Linked DNA regions of Homo sapiens: region 1 is linked to region 2. Evidence: promoter capture Hi-C in 16 types of primary human blood cells and fetal thymus (Javierre and others, 2016). All regions are on one chromosome and are shown on one strand. Each heading gives the region's core, a stretch centred on a gene start or on the middle of the fragment in contact. The rest is flanking DNA. Distances are from core to core; before and after follow the strand shown. Region 1 overlaps SPECC1 (sperm antigen with calponin homology and coiled-coil domains 1). Region 2 holds the start of SPECC1 (sperm antigen with calponin homology and coiled-coil domains 1).

Region 1 (7,017 bases), core at 742-3,241, 280 kb before region 2:
ATCTGGCTGAGCTGCTGCGCGACAGTCCTCAATGCTCACAGAAGCAGCCAAAACTAAGAAGAAACACAGACCACCCCAGGGATGTTAGTATGGTAAGGTCTTTTCCCAAGGACCACTCATCTGAGACTCAGAGGTTCATCAAAAGAACCATGAGAAGAAAATGAAAAGCAGCCCAGCAGGCATTCTGTAGGCTGTTACCTTCTGGTATTTTCCTTGATATTCATCCCTGAATAAAACGGACTAGGATCATTGTTATCCTTGAGTGGAAGCTGGTAACCAGGGGAACATGAAGAGGATTCTGGGGGGCTGAATGCTGTGCTTTCTAGACCTGGGTCACCTCGTGAGCATCCCCCATGCACATGTGTATGTTATACCTCAATTAAAAAGGAGGTCATGTGCGATGGCTCACAAATCCCAGCACTTTGGGAGGCCGAGGCAGGAGGTGCTTAAGCCCAAGAGCTCAAGACTAGCCTGGGCAACATGGCGGGACCCTGTCTCTACAAAAAATGTAAAAATTAGCCAGGCATGATAGTGCATGCCTATAATCCCAGCTACTGGGAAGGCTGAGGCAGGAGAATCACTTGAGCCTGGGGAGACTGGGGCTGCAGTGAGCCATGATCAAATCACTTCACTCCAACCTGGGTGGTAGAGCGAGACCCTATCAAAAAAAAAAAAAGGAAGGAAGGAAGAAAGAAAGGGAGGGAGGGAAGGGGAGAGAGAAGGAGGGAGGACAGGGAGGGGGAGGGAAGAAGGAAACAAGGAGGGAAGGACCCTGATTGTCTTAAGGGGCTAGAGTGTGGTGTCCACTCTGAACACTAACATTTGGAATTTATGTACAAGATTTTTGGGGAGGAAAAAGTGGAGCAAAAACAGAAAGAAACTTGCTGATTATTTTTACCCAGGGAAATGCTAGTTACTAATTACAAATTAACTTTTCCCAGGATATAAATACTTTAGCAATATTTCTGAGTGGAATATGGAACTTTTTGATGAAAGTCTTAGATGTTTAATAAAAGGGTAACAGTCCAACCATCTCCAAAACTGGTTATAGGTCTCTAGGAGGGTTTAGGAAAAAAAAAAAGTAAGATACAGAATTTTGTCCACCTCAATGAAGCAAAAGTCATTTGAGAAAAATGAAGACATTGAATTACACATGGGAAGGTAAAAATCTAATTTTAGTGCATATCCAAGAATATCTTCCCAGAGTGTTGAGGTTGTACTAAAGTTGCAGACGGGGGAATGTAGAGACAGCACTCATGAATAACGCAGCAGGACAGGGCAAAGCAAAACCACACAGCCTGCGCATTTGCTTCTAGAAGATGCTTTCGCTTGCCTTGGTTGCCTGGTTACTTGCCTTGCCTTGGTTATTAACATTTGGTAAAAAACATCAATCACTGGGGGGACAAGCTGCAGGGTACACACTGAATTGTGTACTGTGCTAAATTCAATCGAGGACACAGCTGGATTCCGTGGCTGCATTCCCAGTACTTCTTTACCTTCACCAAGGACCTCCAGGTGCCTCCATGAGGTGTCTGTGAATGAACTGACTCTGTGTACACTAACTGCAAAAGTCAAAAAGAAAAAAGCAAAGCTTCTTGGGAAAAAGGCAGGAGACTGATTAGAAAATGCTGTACATTCATTCTTGCAGGAACCAGCTGTCTCAGGCTCATGGTGATCTAAACAGTCTCACTCCCTGAATCTCTCTGGGGTTTTCCCAATTGGTCTTTATTATCACAGCTGTGGAATCAGATTGAGTTTTTAGTTTTTGGAAAGTTTAACAGTTTACAGATCACAGAGGATAAAAGCAGCTCATTCCTCACTGGAGCTCAGCATGTGCAATAAAAGCCCAGGGAGGATCACACTTACTTTGAAGGTCTGGTCAGAGAGGATACAAAGCAAATGCACACATAACATTTCATGTGAAATCTCAGCAAATGCAGCCTGTGCTCCTTCCCTGCCGTGCATTCAGTGTTCGGTCCTTGCCTGGGACAAGTGTACACACACATCCAGTTTTAGTACCTCTGTTCTGATCTCAGACTATCTGGTAAACCTCGAGTGGCCTCGTCCTGCACACGGACAGCACAACCCTTGGCCATGACTTGTGGAGACCTGCACATAGACTCCTGGGCCCCCTATCTTCACAGCATCCTCCTTTCTGATGCCCCATTCCATAAAATGTGCAGCTTTGGCTGCCCCTCTCTGATCACCGCCTCCTCAGCCAGTGGGGCTGCTGTGCTCTGCTCAGAGGCCAGCTCCCTGCACTGGGAAGTGGATATTGTTCCCAGGCAGAGAGCTGGTGAGCTGGCCATCACTGCAGGAGTTTCCCTTCTCCCAGGGATTAGTCTCGCATCGCTTGTTTCCTAGAGATGAGTTCCAGATGGCTAAGCTTAAAAACCAAAATTATAACATTATAAAAAGAAAAATATAGAAGAATAGGCTTATAATCCTGGGGAAAGAAAGCCATCTAAGGCACAAAATGCAAAAAGTATAAAGGAAAGGATTAAGAAATCTGACTTAAAGAAAGTTTCTATATGACAAAATTAAAACCAATATATGTATAGCAAACGACTAATACTCAAAATATATTCCTGTAATCAATAAGAAAGAGGACAGACATGGTAGCTCATGCCTATAATCCTAGCACTTTGAGAGGTTGAGGCAAGTGGATCGCTCGAGGCCAGGGGTTTGAGAACAGTCTGGGAAACATGGCGAAACCTCATCTCTACCAAAAAAATACAAAAATTAGCCAAATGTGGTGGCATGCAGCTGTAGTCCCAGCTACTTGGGAGGCTGAGGTGGGAGGACTGCTTGAGCTCAGGAGGCAGAGGTTGAGGTGAGCCAAGATCGTGCCACTACACTCCAGCCAGGGTGACAGAGCAAGACTCTGTCTCAAAGAAAAAGACAAACAACTCAAGTAAAAATTGGCAGAGAAATGAACCTGTAATGTACTGAAGAGGAAATACAAATAGTCTGAAATGTATGAAAAGATGTTCAGTCTCACCAGAAAATAAAAACGGTAAAATATCATTTTCACTCATCAAACTGGCAAAAATTAAAGACATTTAATTCATAAGGTTAATGAAGATGTTATTGTAATCCACTGTTTCGGGGTGGTTTGCTCTACAGCTACAGACAATCAGAATGCCTGAAGTGACTTCTTTTATATTTGCTGCAAAGGGCAAGTCACATCTCTGGCAGCGGAAAGCTACCTTTTGTCCCTCATGGAATAACTCTGGGATTCCTTGGAATGCCTTTCCATTTCTGCTCCTGTTCATATTATTGCTTTAATCTTTTTTGTTTGTTTGTTTTTCTAAGATAGGGTCTGGCTCTGCTGCCCAGGTTGGAGTGCAATAGTGTGATCAGGGCTCACTGTAGCCTCAATCTCCTGTGCTCAAGTGATCCTCCCACCTCAGCCTCCAGAGTAGCTGGGACTACAGGTGGAAGCCACCATGCCTGGCTAATTTTTTTTTTCATCTTTTCTTAGAGATGGGGTCTCACTATGTTGCCCAGGCTGGTCTTGAACTCCCGAGGTCAAGCAATCCTCCTGCCTCAGCCTCTGAAAGTGCTGGGATTACAGGCGTGAGCCACTGCACGCACCCAGCCAATTATTTATTTTTCTACTTTAGATTTTATATGGCTCATTATCTCCCAAATCAAATCTGACAACTTCTACTTATCTTTTAAGATTTAAAAAAATGCAGACCTCCTCAACCCGTTCAAGTCAGTGTCATTACTATTCTGAAACATGAGCTGCAGGGGCCATGCTCATGGCTGTTTCCACTGTGTCTTTGCTTCTGCAACGCTACGGTGGGCAGAATGACGTGTGAAGGGGGTCTCCTCTGCCGTGGCTTCATTGCACCTTTCCAGTCAGGCAGGGCAACCCACTTTCATCAGCACTCTTTCTCTAAACTTTTTTGGCTCTTCTTAGTTGCTTATTCTTCCAGGTGAATTTTTAATTACTTTGTTAAGTTCAAGAATAAAGAAAGTCTGTTGGGATTTTAATCGGAATTGCATTAAATTTAGAGACTAATTTGGAATAATTCACTTTTTAAATGTTCCTCCCACTCTTTTATCCACACTGAAAGCACCGAGGGTTTGAGACTGCGAAAATGGAGACAGCGGCCACGGTGAGCTGGTGCAGGAAGCAGCGCCCTTCCCTTTACTCCTCTGTGGACAAGAGCCTTCCTATGGCGAGAGGACGGCTGTGTCCCAGAGATGTTCAGGCAGATGCTGCACAGTCCCTCCCTGGAGACAGAATCACAGAAGATACACATCTCAGGAGCAGCTGGGGCCCTGTCTTTCTTGCTTCCTCCATTTTCACTTGACAAACACTCAGAAGTCCCCACCCACGGCGTTTCTTCCCCGAGGTTAACTGGCTTTGGCATTGTGACACAGGGTCTGGTTGCCTTGCAAGCATGGGCCTGCGGCCAACACCTCCTGCCCCCTGGCTGGGTCCACTTCCTCCAGCCCAACAGCAGTTCCACTGGCAGTGCTAGCCTCACACAGCACCCGAACGCAGGCGAAGCCCCGCGGCTCAGCAGGGGCCTCCCAGTTCTTCCTTGGCGTCCTGAGAACAGGTCTTCTCTGTGCCCTCACCTCGGATCCCAGATGATTCCCTGCCATCTTCTGACCCCTAGGACCATGCTCAGGCCTCTGGGGAAACACTTCCCTGGAATTTTCTTTCCTCTTCTGCCTTTCTGTTAAGTTGGCTACCTCATTTTCATTAATTCCACTCTTCCTCCTTGCTTGCTGCTTCTAAAAAAGGTCATGGTCATGCATAGCTCTGCTGGCTCCTCTCCTCCTGGAGTCACCCAGGCTCAGTGGACTAGCAGCCCCCTGAAGCCCCATTCTGCTCCTTGCTGAGTGTTTACCTGTGTCCAGCAGCTCCCTCAAGGAAATGTTGGAGAAATCTCCTCATGAGCCATCTGCACAACTCACTAGCGGTTCAGCCCTCGAGGCTGGGAGTAGAGTCCACACAAACATTTCCAAAGCCCTCCATGTGTGAGGCGCTGAGGAGTACACCGCAGGGAAGCATGGTCCTACCATGGTTCACCCATGCTGTGGTGCAGGCAGGCAGGACAGCCTGAGCCTGGGGTGTGCAGGAGGCAGGATGAACTCTGGGGCTTCAGGAAAGGGCGAGCCACTGCAAGATTCCTCATGGAGTTCTGGGAGCCCAGGAGACAAAAGTCTGGTTCTTTCTTTCTTTTATAGTAAGTCCTCACTTAATGTTGGGAGGTTCTTGGACACTGTAACATTAAGTGAAATGGTGACACGCTGTATAACAAAACCAGTTTCACCGCAGGCTAATTGACATGGGCCAGAGTTGAGTTCCCATGGCTTACAGCACATGGTTTCACCCAAAGCCGCCATTTCCAGGAACCGACCGGCCATGCTAAGAACTGAGCTGACATCAGATTGAATGAAGCCCCTGGCAAACGAGAATGTCCGATGCTCTAAAGAGGAACAAACCAAACCAAACTGTGACCCGCTCCTTCCTCCTCACACTAACGCAGCTGAATATGACTTTAGGAAAGTGACTCAACTTTTCTGCCTTAAGTTTCCTCATCTCTCAAATGAAGTGGCTAGATTAAATTAGTGGTTCTGAAATAAACAGTTATGAAACCCGTTCTTCCAATGATGCTTCTGCAGAAGGTTTTTTAAAAGTAGGGATTGCAAACCACAAAATCCGGTGATCTTTTCTTTAACATCCATCTGTCTATATTCTACCTTGCATTGCCCCATACGACAGCCACCAGCCCCATGTGGCTGTTTAAATTAGTTAAAATTAAATAATATCAAAATTCCATTTCTCAGTCACATTAGGAATCTTTTAAGTGCTCAGCAGCCACCTGTGGCTACAGGATTGGCCAGCACAGATATAGAACATTCCCATCATCACAGAGGGTTCTACAGGACAGTGCTGTCTTGCACTTATGCAAACATGCATGTGTATTTCCCCCTTTTATGCAGATGGTGGCATGTTCTGCACCCTTACCAAGATATATAGAGCTAGGTCCTTCACGACATCTGGATGAACAGTTTCAGTGTAGAGACCAAGGGACTGGATGCTGGGCCCAACAGCAGGAGTTCAGTCCCAGCTCTATCCCTTACTAGGGTGTGACTCTGAGCAGTCATGGAGCCTCTTGCTGCCTTAGTTTTGTATTTGTAAAATGGATACAAAATGCCTAACTCATGAGATTGTGGTCAAGATTAGATGCACTTAGACAATGTCGGTCACGTGGTAAATATTTTGTCACTGCTAGCTTTACTTCCATCACCATTCGCTACTTTGTTCTCTGACGACACATGCAGGTCCATCACATGGATGGAGACAGCAGCCCGTTTAGGTTGTTTCCAGTTTTCTGTTATCACAAACAGTACTGCGATAATTGTCCTCCCATGCACCTCTCTGCACACAGGTGGAATCCATTTTGATGGATTCTGCCAAATTGCCCTCAAAGAGGTTCTTCCACCTTAAACTCCACCTCCCAACAACACACATGCGACTATGTTCCTCCACCACACAGCACGTGCCCTTTGGTGATGGGCTGATTTCACTCACTGAAGCATCCTCAGACCCATCTGTGTTGCAGCGTGTGTCAGCCACTCTGCTTCTGCATCCATCTGTCCACCTTCTCCTCTCCATATCCCAACCCCCATCCTAGTTCAGGAGTTGTGGTCTTCCTCATGTCTTCCAAAACCACAGCTCTGGCTGGGAGACCACCTGTCACCATGGTTTTTAAACCCTTTCTGACTCTGTAGTCAGCAGAATTAGAATTGTACTAAGAAAATAATATGCAATAACTGAAAAATTGATTATAAGGAATTTTGTTCCAAGATCAAGTTTAGTTTATACTAGAAAAGTAACCTTCAAGGCTGGGCGCGGTGGCTCATACCTGTAATCCCAACACTTTGGGAGGCCAAGGCAGGCGGATCACCTGAGGTCGGGAGTTCAAGATCAGCCTGACCAACATGGAGAAACCCTTTCTCTACTAAAAATACAAAATTAGCCGGGCA
Region 2 (7,350 bases), core at 296-2,795:
GGCAAAAAACCCAACACCCACCCTTGACTTTTTAAACTCTTAGTAATTAGGCATAAACAGAAATGTACTTAATGTGATAGAATACACTCGGTGAAGATACAGAGGGAATGCTCCCTAAAACCAAGCCCAAGACAAAGATTCCTATTTAACCTCAATAGTCAACACTGCAGCGAGAGTAATCTATGGAAGACAAGGAAAAAAGTAAAAACATGAGAGACATCTGTTGTTTAACAGACAATAAGATCACCTACTTGGAAGAGGCAAACGAATCAAGCGAAAAACTATTAAAACTGAGACAGGCTTTAGTATGGAGGCTCAGCTTCAGCTGTAGTTTGGGCTACCAAATTCAACTCGCTTGCTTGGAGAGTTAATCCTGCAAAGCTAATTTCTGTTGAGGTATTAGGATTGACAAGCCTGTGCTCCTCCCTCCTCCCCCATCTTCAACACTGAAATAACACGGTGTTTGGAACTGGATAACAGAATCTTCCAAAAACAAAAATTGTCCTGAAGGGCTGACTTGTGCCCTTACTCAAAAAACACTTTATCTGCTGCCTGCAGCTCCTACAGTTGCTGGTGGATAAGCCTGCCAACCAGCTCGGCGTAATTCTTCCTGCAGAGGGCAAGGAAGAGCACTTTCACAGGAAAATTTTTTTCCGAACTGTATGCCGCTTATTACATAAACTTACGTGCTGGCAAATGGAGCTCCAGCAAAATAAGATATTCAGAGTCAAACTTCCTTAGGAAAAAAAAAAAAAAAAAGCAAGCACATAACACTAATTTCCTTGCATGGGCACTGGGGAAGGAGGTCGTTACTTCCGCACGCCCGCAGGTCCGCACCACCGGGAAACCCACGGGCACCGCGCGCTGCCCCCGGGCCTTCCAGGTGCACTGCGCCGCGGCGCCCCAGCTGACCCGGGATGCGCAGCCCTAGCCCTTCCCCTGTCACCCCGGCCAGGAAGGGGCGGGAGCGCGGCGGACGCCGAGGGCGAAGGGCTTCTCGGTCCTCTGCACCACGCAGCACCCCCAAGGCACAACAGGGAGGGTGCGGGAGGCTCCCGAGACCCAGGAGCCGGGGCCGGGCGTGCCCGCGCACCTGTCCCACTGCGGCGAGGGCTGGGGTCGCCTCCAGGGCCGCAGCTGTCGGGAGCCACCTGGCTCTCAGTCCCGGGTCCCTGCGACAACCCTCGGGCCCGGAGGGGAGGAGGCGGCCACCTGCCGCTGCCACCTGCGGCACCGGTCCCACCGCTCCGGGCCGGGCAGGACAGGCCAGGACGTCCCTCCTGGGCTGGGGACAGGACACGCGACGAGGGGACCGGGGCCCCCGCGGCGAAGACGCAGCACGCCTTCCCAGAAAGGCAGTCCCGTGCCCCCACGACGGACTGCCGGACCCCCGCGCTCGCCCGCCCATCCCTTCAGACCACGCGGCTGAGGCGCAAAGAGCCGGCCGGCGGGCGGGCTGGCGGCGCGGCTAGTACTCACCGGCCCCGCTGGCTCAGCGCCGCCGCAACCCCCAGCGGCCACGGCTCCGGGCGCTCACTGATGCTCAGGAGAGGGACCCGCGCTCCGCCGGCGCCTCCAGCCATCGCCGCCAGGGGGCGAGCGCGAGCCGCGCGGGGCTCGCTGGGAGATGTAGTACCCGGACCGCCGCCTGCGCCGTCCTCCTTCAGCCGGCGGCCGGGGGCCCCCTCTCTCCCAGCTCTCAGTGTCTCATCTCCCTATCTGCTCATCCTCTGGTCGCACATAATCGATGTTTGGGCGTCCCAAGCCAGATGTGGACCCCATTTCCGCACTCTACACTGGAGGTTTTCTAAGGGTGGTGCCCGGACCAGCAGCTTCAGCCTCATCTGGGAACTTGAGAAAATGCAGATTCTCCGTCCCACCCAGCCTATTCGGTTTTTCCTGCACTAAAACCATGAAGGTGGGGCCCAGCAGTCCACATTCTCGCAAGCCCGTCAAGTGATTCTGAGGCGCCCTCCAGTTTGAGAGCTATGCTCACGGCCTCACCTCCGCCCCGCAAGGAGCCCGGTCTTGCCTGTGGCGCTAGCCGCACACGGACACCTCATCCTGCGGGGCCCGCCCCCCCGCTGCACCCTCACCGCCCAACGCCTCCTCCGGGATGCAGCGGAGGCGCCTGGAAGTCGGCAAGGTCAACATCCCCCTCAGCATCTTCCCTACCCTCACGGCTCCTCCTCCAGGGGTGCCTCATGGCCAGGGGTTAGAAAGAGCCACTGTGTTTCTTGACATGGAAGTGGCCTAAGACCTTAATGAAAACTGCAGGAGTGGAATGACAGAACCTTTGGTCATACTTGAGGGCGTGAAGCTCAAATGAGGAGGAAGGAAAGGATCCAGGGAGAATAACCAACCCTGGCAAGTTGTGGCGCCCAGGTAGAGGGGCGAGCCTAGGCTAGCGGTTCTCGACCAGGGCCGGTGTTGCCCCTCCTCGCCGCCCCGCGTACATTTGGGGAGGTCTGGAGACATTTTTGGTTGTCATGATGCGGGAGTTGCTACTGTTGCCTAAGTGGGTAGACACGAGGGTGCTCCTCAACATCCTACCTGAAGGACAGGACTGCCCCACAAGGAAGAATGATCCGGCCCCAAATAAGAAACCCTGGGCTGGTCAGCAACAACCCCTTTGTTCTGAGAAGAGAGGAGGAAAGAATAAAAGAAGTGGGGTGAAGTTTTGGTTTGGTAGAGGAAACTTGAAGACATTTTCACTGGAAAGGAAGAGAGGAAGAGGAGGGAGATGTCTGTAAGGACGAGCAAACCGGGTGACAGCTGATTTCCTCATATTGAAGTAATGAGTCCTAGTTATAATAAATTCCTAATAAAAACCCAGTTTATCCCTGCAATAAACTTGTCTTTTTTTTTTAAATATACTGCTTGATTCTGTTTGCTAATATTTTATTTACAGGCTTTGCATTGATATGCAAAAATGAGATGGGCAATAATTTTCTTTTTGAATGTCTAATGTTGTTTGGTTTCAGAATCAATGTTATGCTCACATCATAAAAAATTTGGAACCGAGGCAGGAGGAGTGCTTGAGGCCAGAAGTTCGAGACCAGTCTAGGAAACACAGTGAGACCCCCCCATCTCTACAAAAAAAAAAAAAGAAAAAAAAATGGGCATGTTTGCTTTTTCCTTTTACTCTGAACAATTTAAGGAGCATTAAAATTATCTATTCTTTGAGGTTTGATCATTTCCCAGTTAAAAATGTTCCTCCCAGCCTGATGCTTTCTTTGGGGAGGGTAAATCTTTTAAGGCTAGAAAAGTTTCTTCTGTGGCAATTTTATTATTTACATTTTAAAAATTATTCTAGAGTTAATTTTGATAAAGCATGTATTTCTTAAAACAAATTATCCTTTTTTTCCAGATGTTCAAGTGTATTTGCATAAAGTTGAGGAAAGTAGTCTTTTGTGAATCTTTTAACTTCTCCCAAATATCTTATTTTGTGTATTTTTGCTTCTTTATTTTGTTAACTTTTAAAAGTGTATTTTTTTTTCAAAGAATCAGCTCTTAGGTTTATGTTTTTGGTTATACTGGAGCTTTTTTCTTCTTCTTTTTAAAATATTTTTTCTCCTTTATTTTTTAGACGTATTTTGATCTAACGTAATCGGAAGAAGGTAAATTAGAATCTTTTGTTACTATTGTGTTTTTATTTCTCCTTATTTCTCTGAAGTCCTGCTTTATAAATAGTACCATGTTATTTGTGCATAAATATTCATTTGTCTTATATTCTTGGGAATTTTCCCACTTCATCATAAAATGACCTTCCTTGTCTCATTTAATGTGTTCAAACTTTGCCCTGAATTTAACTTTGTCTGATATTTTACCATCCTGCTGAATTTTGTTTGTTACCCCAAACAACCTTTGCTGTTTTCGTCTTTTCTGAACCCTTTATTTTAGGTAATCCCTTGAATTAGAGCACTAAGTTTTGCTTTGTGATTAAATCTGAAAATCTTTATCTTGCCATAGATGAGTTGAGCCCTATTCATGTGACAGCTATATTATGCTGTTTCATAGCCCTTTTGGTCCTTTTTTCACTCTTGCATTGCATATTTTGTGTTTATTGTGTTTTGTGTTTCTTCTGATAATTTGGAAGGTTTGTATTTTTATTCAGGGAGTTGCCTTATAATCATACTCCGCAATACACATCGTCCTCAGTTTCTTCAGACTGTCTGTTAACTCCCTATTCTGAATAAAAATGACATTGTAATTTCCCTCTTTTTTCTTTACCCCTTTTCTTCTCCTCACCTAATGTAAATGATTTTATCCTTCTTTAGTATTTGCTTTTTTAATTAACTACATTTATAAATATCTTTATCACTTGATTTTTAAATCAGCTTTGAATGAGATATTTGGATTCCTAGATATAAAAGATGTTAATTATACCATTTCCACGTTAGTAGGTTTATAAAATCATACATTCTGCTGTGTAACCATAATCCCACGTTTGTTTTAGTTCCACTCCTACAGTTAAAAGATTCAGAAGTATTATTAACAGTTATTTTGCCATAGTTTTTTCCCCAACCCATTTTGTGGTAAGTTATGATCCTGCTTTAGTTTCTTAAGAATAATTTATAGAGCAGAGTGTGGTGGCTCACGTTTGTAATCCCAGCACTTTGGGAGACAAGAGGTAGAAGGATCGCTTGAAGCCAGCAGTTCAAGACCACCCTGAGCAACATAGTGAGACCTTGTCTCTACAAAAAATTTTAAAATTTAGCCAGACGTAGTGGCGTGTGCCTATAGTCCCAGCTACTCAGGAGGCTGAGGCAAGAGGATTGCTAGAGCCCAGAAGTTTGAGGCTGCAGTGACCTCTGATTGTGCCACTGCACCCCAGTCTGGGCAAGAAAGTGAGAACCTATCTCTTTAAAATAACAATAATAACTTATGAAAATTATATTCCCTGAGTTTTTCATGTTTAAAAATATTTGTTGCCTTTATCCTGTAAAAGTTTGAGTATAAATTCTTGGGTTATACTTTATTTATTGAAGAATGTATAAGTATTGTCTTCTAGAATTGAGTGTTGCTGTAATGAAACCAGAAGTCAGCCTGGTTTATTTTTCCTCAGAAATGAGGTAATTGCCGGCCGGACACCGTGGCTCATGCCTGTAATCCCAACACTTTGGGAGGCCGAGACAGGTGGATCACGAGGTCAGGAGATTGAGACCATCCTGGCTAACATGGTGAAACCCCGGCTCTACTAAAAGTACAAAAAGTTAGCTGGGCATGGTGGTGGACGCCTGTAATCCCAGCTACCCGGGAGGCTGAGGCAGGAGAATGGCGTGAACCTGGGAGGAGGAGCTTGCAGAGAGCTGAGATCGCGCCACTGCACTCCAGCCTGGGCGACAGAGTGAGACTCCGTCTCAAAAAAACAAAAAAAAAACAAAGAAGTGAAGTAATTGCCATGATGCTCCAAGAATTATCTCTTTGTCTATGAAATCCAGAAATCTCACTGTTATACATTTTGGAATTATTATTCTGGGCCAATATTTCCTGGGACACAATAGATTGACTCTATAGATTTAATTTTTTTTTTTTTTTTGAGACAGAGTCTCACTGCAATCTCAGCTTACTGCAACCTCTGCCTCACGGGTTCAAGCAATTCTCCTGCCTCAGCCTCCCAAGTAGCTGGGACTACAGGCGCGTGGCACCATGCCTGGCTAATTTTTGTCTTTTTAGTAGAGACAGGGTTTCACCATGTTGGCCAGGCTGGTCTTGAACGCCTAACCTCAAGTGATCCACCTGCCTCAGCCTCCCAAAGTGCTGGGATTACAGGCGTGAGCCACCATGCCCAGCCTCAATTCCTCTTTCTATCTGGTAATTTTTCTGAAGTTGAAAACATTTGTTCTAATACGTTATTTCAGTGTTCTTCTAAGATGTGTAAAGCACCCTATTCCCAGGTCAGCCCCCATCTTGCTAGTGAGCTCGGCTGGTTCTTCACAAGAGCTCTGGTTTTCTCCTGCTTAATCTCAAGTACCTCTGTCAGCCTCCACCTGGTTTATGATTTGGAGTTTTTTGGTTTTTGTTTTTTGTTTTTGACAGAGTCTTACTCTGTCACCCAGGCTGGAGAGCAGTGGCATAATCTCAGCTCACTGCAACCTCTGTCTCCCAGGTTTGAGCGATTCTCCTGCCTCAGCCTACTGAGTAGCTGGGATTACAGGCGCGTGCCACCACACCCGGCTAATTTTTGTATTTTTAGTAGAGATGGGGTTTCACCATGTTGGCCAGGGTGGTCTTGAACTCCTGACCTCAGGTAATCCACCTGCCTCAGCCTCCCAAAGTGCTGAGATTACAGGCGTGAGCCACCGCGCCTGGCATGGTTTGGAGTTTTAATCTGTAGTTTTAATAAAGATAGTGCTTATGTTTGTGTTTCTTATATTTCTTGGTACTCTTGGGTAATTTGTAAGATCCCCATATCTACACAAGAAGTCCATTTTCAATTCTTTTCTTCAGACTGTTTATTTTATTTTATTTTATTTTATTTTTATGTTTGAGATGGAGTCTCGCTGTGTCACTTCTGGAGGCTGGAGTGCAGTGGCGCGATCTCAGGTCACTGCAACCTCCGTCTCCCGGGTTCAAGCAATTCTCCTGCCTCAGCCTCCCGAGTAGCTGGGATTACAGGCACCTGCCACTTTTTAATTTTTTTAGAGACAGAGTCTCGCTTTGTTGACCAGGCTGGAGTGCGGTGGTGCAATCATGGCTGACTATAACCTCCAAATCCTGGGCTCAAGTGATCCTCCTGCCTCAGCCTCCTGAGTAGCTGGGACTACAGGCACATGCCACCATGCCCAGTTAATTTTAATTTTTTTGTAGAGACAGGGTCTCCATATGTTGCCCAGGCTGGCCTCCTACTCCTGGCCTCAAGTAATCCTCCTACCTCAGCCTCCCAAATTACTAGGATTATAAGCATGAGCCACCATGCCCAGCCTTGTTCTACTACTTTAATTTCATATGTTAGGTGACCATGTAATTGATCATCCAAACCAGGATACTGTAAGAATGAAAGAGGCTGACAGTAGTATGATGCTGGGACTAGCATTGTGCACTGAGATTATTTCTGGGAAAGCAGGAGATACGGTCACCCTACTTATAGTGTGCTTGTCTTTGGATTGTTGAATTTGGAGTTTCTATTTGCAGGCTTATTTCAACTGGGCAGCCTTGATCCGCCCTGCCCAGCAATGCTACCGTTCTCTCCACCGGGTCTCTGGGACCCCTTCAGTCACTATACTTAGCTCAGTTCCCCACCCTCCCACTCCCTAAAAGCGTAACCAGGAATCCTGCCTCAGGTCTACTGCCGTCTTCCGTGGGCTGTTTCAGTTCCTATTACCCAGAGTCAAACTCCCAGCATTC

What was found. The method cuts DNA at HindIII sites, captures the fragments that hold promoters and counts their contacts. A CHiCAGO score of 5 or more calls a contact.
Region 1: a contact is called between a fragment that was not itself captured here and the fragment with the promoter of SPECC1 in region 2, in 7 of 17 cell types (erythroblasts, M2 macrophages, monocytes and 4 more). The highest score is 7.8, in erythroblasts.

What each region holds. Positions count from the first base shown.
Region 1 is chr17:20,279,479-20,286,495 of GRCh38, reverse strand. All of the region lies in intron 12 of SPECC1 (sperm antigen with calponin homology and coiled-coil domains 1), which reads right to left. Among named protein-coding and RNA genes, the nearest start is that of FAM106B, 130 kb to the left of the region's middle. RefSeq lists an enhancer at 4,473-4,973. The HindIII fragment of the contact is 795 bases long and covers 1,594-2,388 here.
Region 2 is chr17:20,003,554-20,010,903 of GRCh38, reverse strand. SPECC1 (sperm antigen with calponin homology and coiled-coil domains 1) reads right to left here and starts at 1,545. Exons shown (of 15, transcript NM_001243439.2): 1 at 1,480-1,545. It overlaps SPECC1-DT (SPECC1 divergent transcript), which reads left to right and starts at 1,644. Exons shown (of 1, transcript NR_186461.1): 1 at 1,644-2,849. RefSeq lists silencers at 874-1,053, 1,074-1,743 and an enhancer at 2,176-2,743. The HindIII fragment of the contact is 26,343 bases long and covers 1-7,350 here.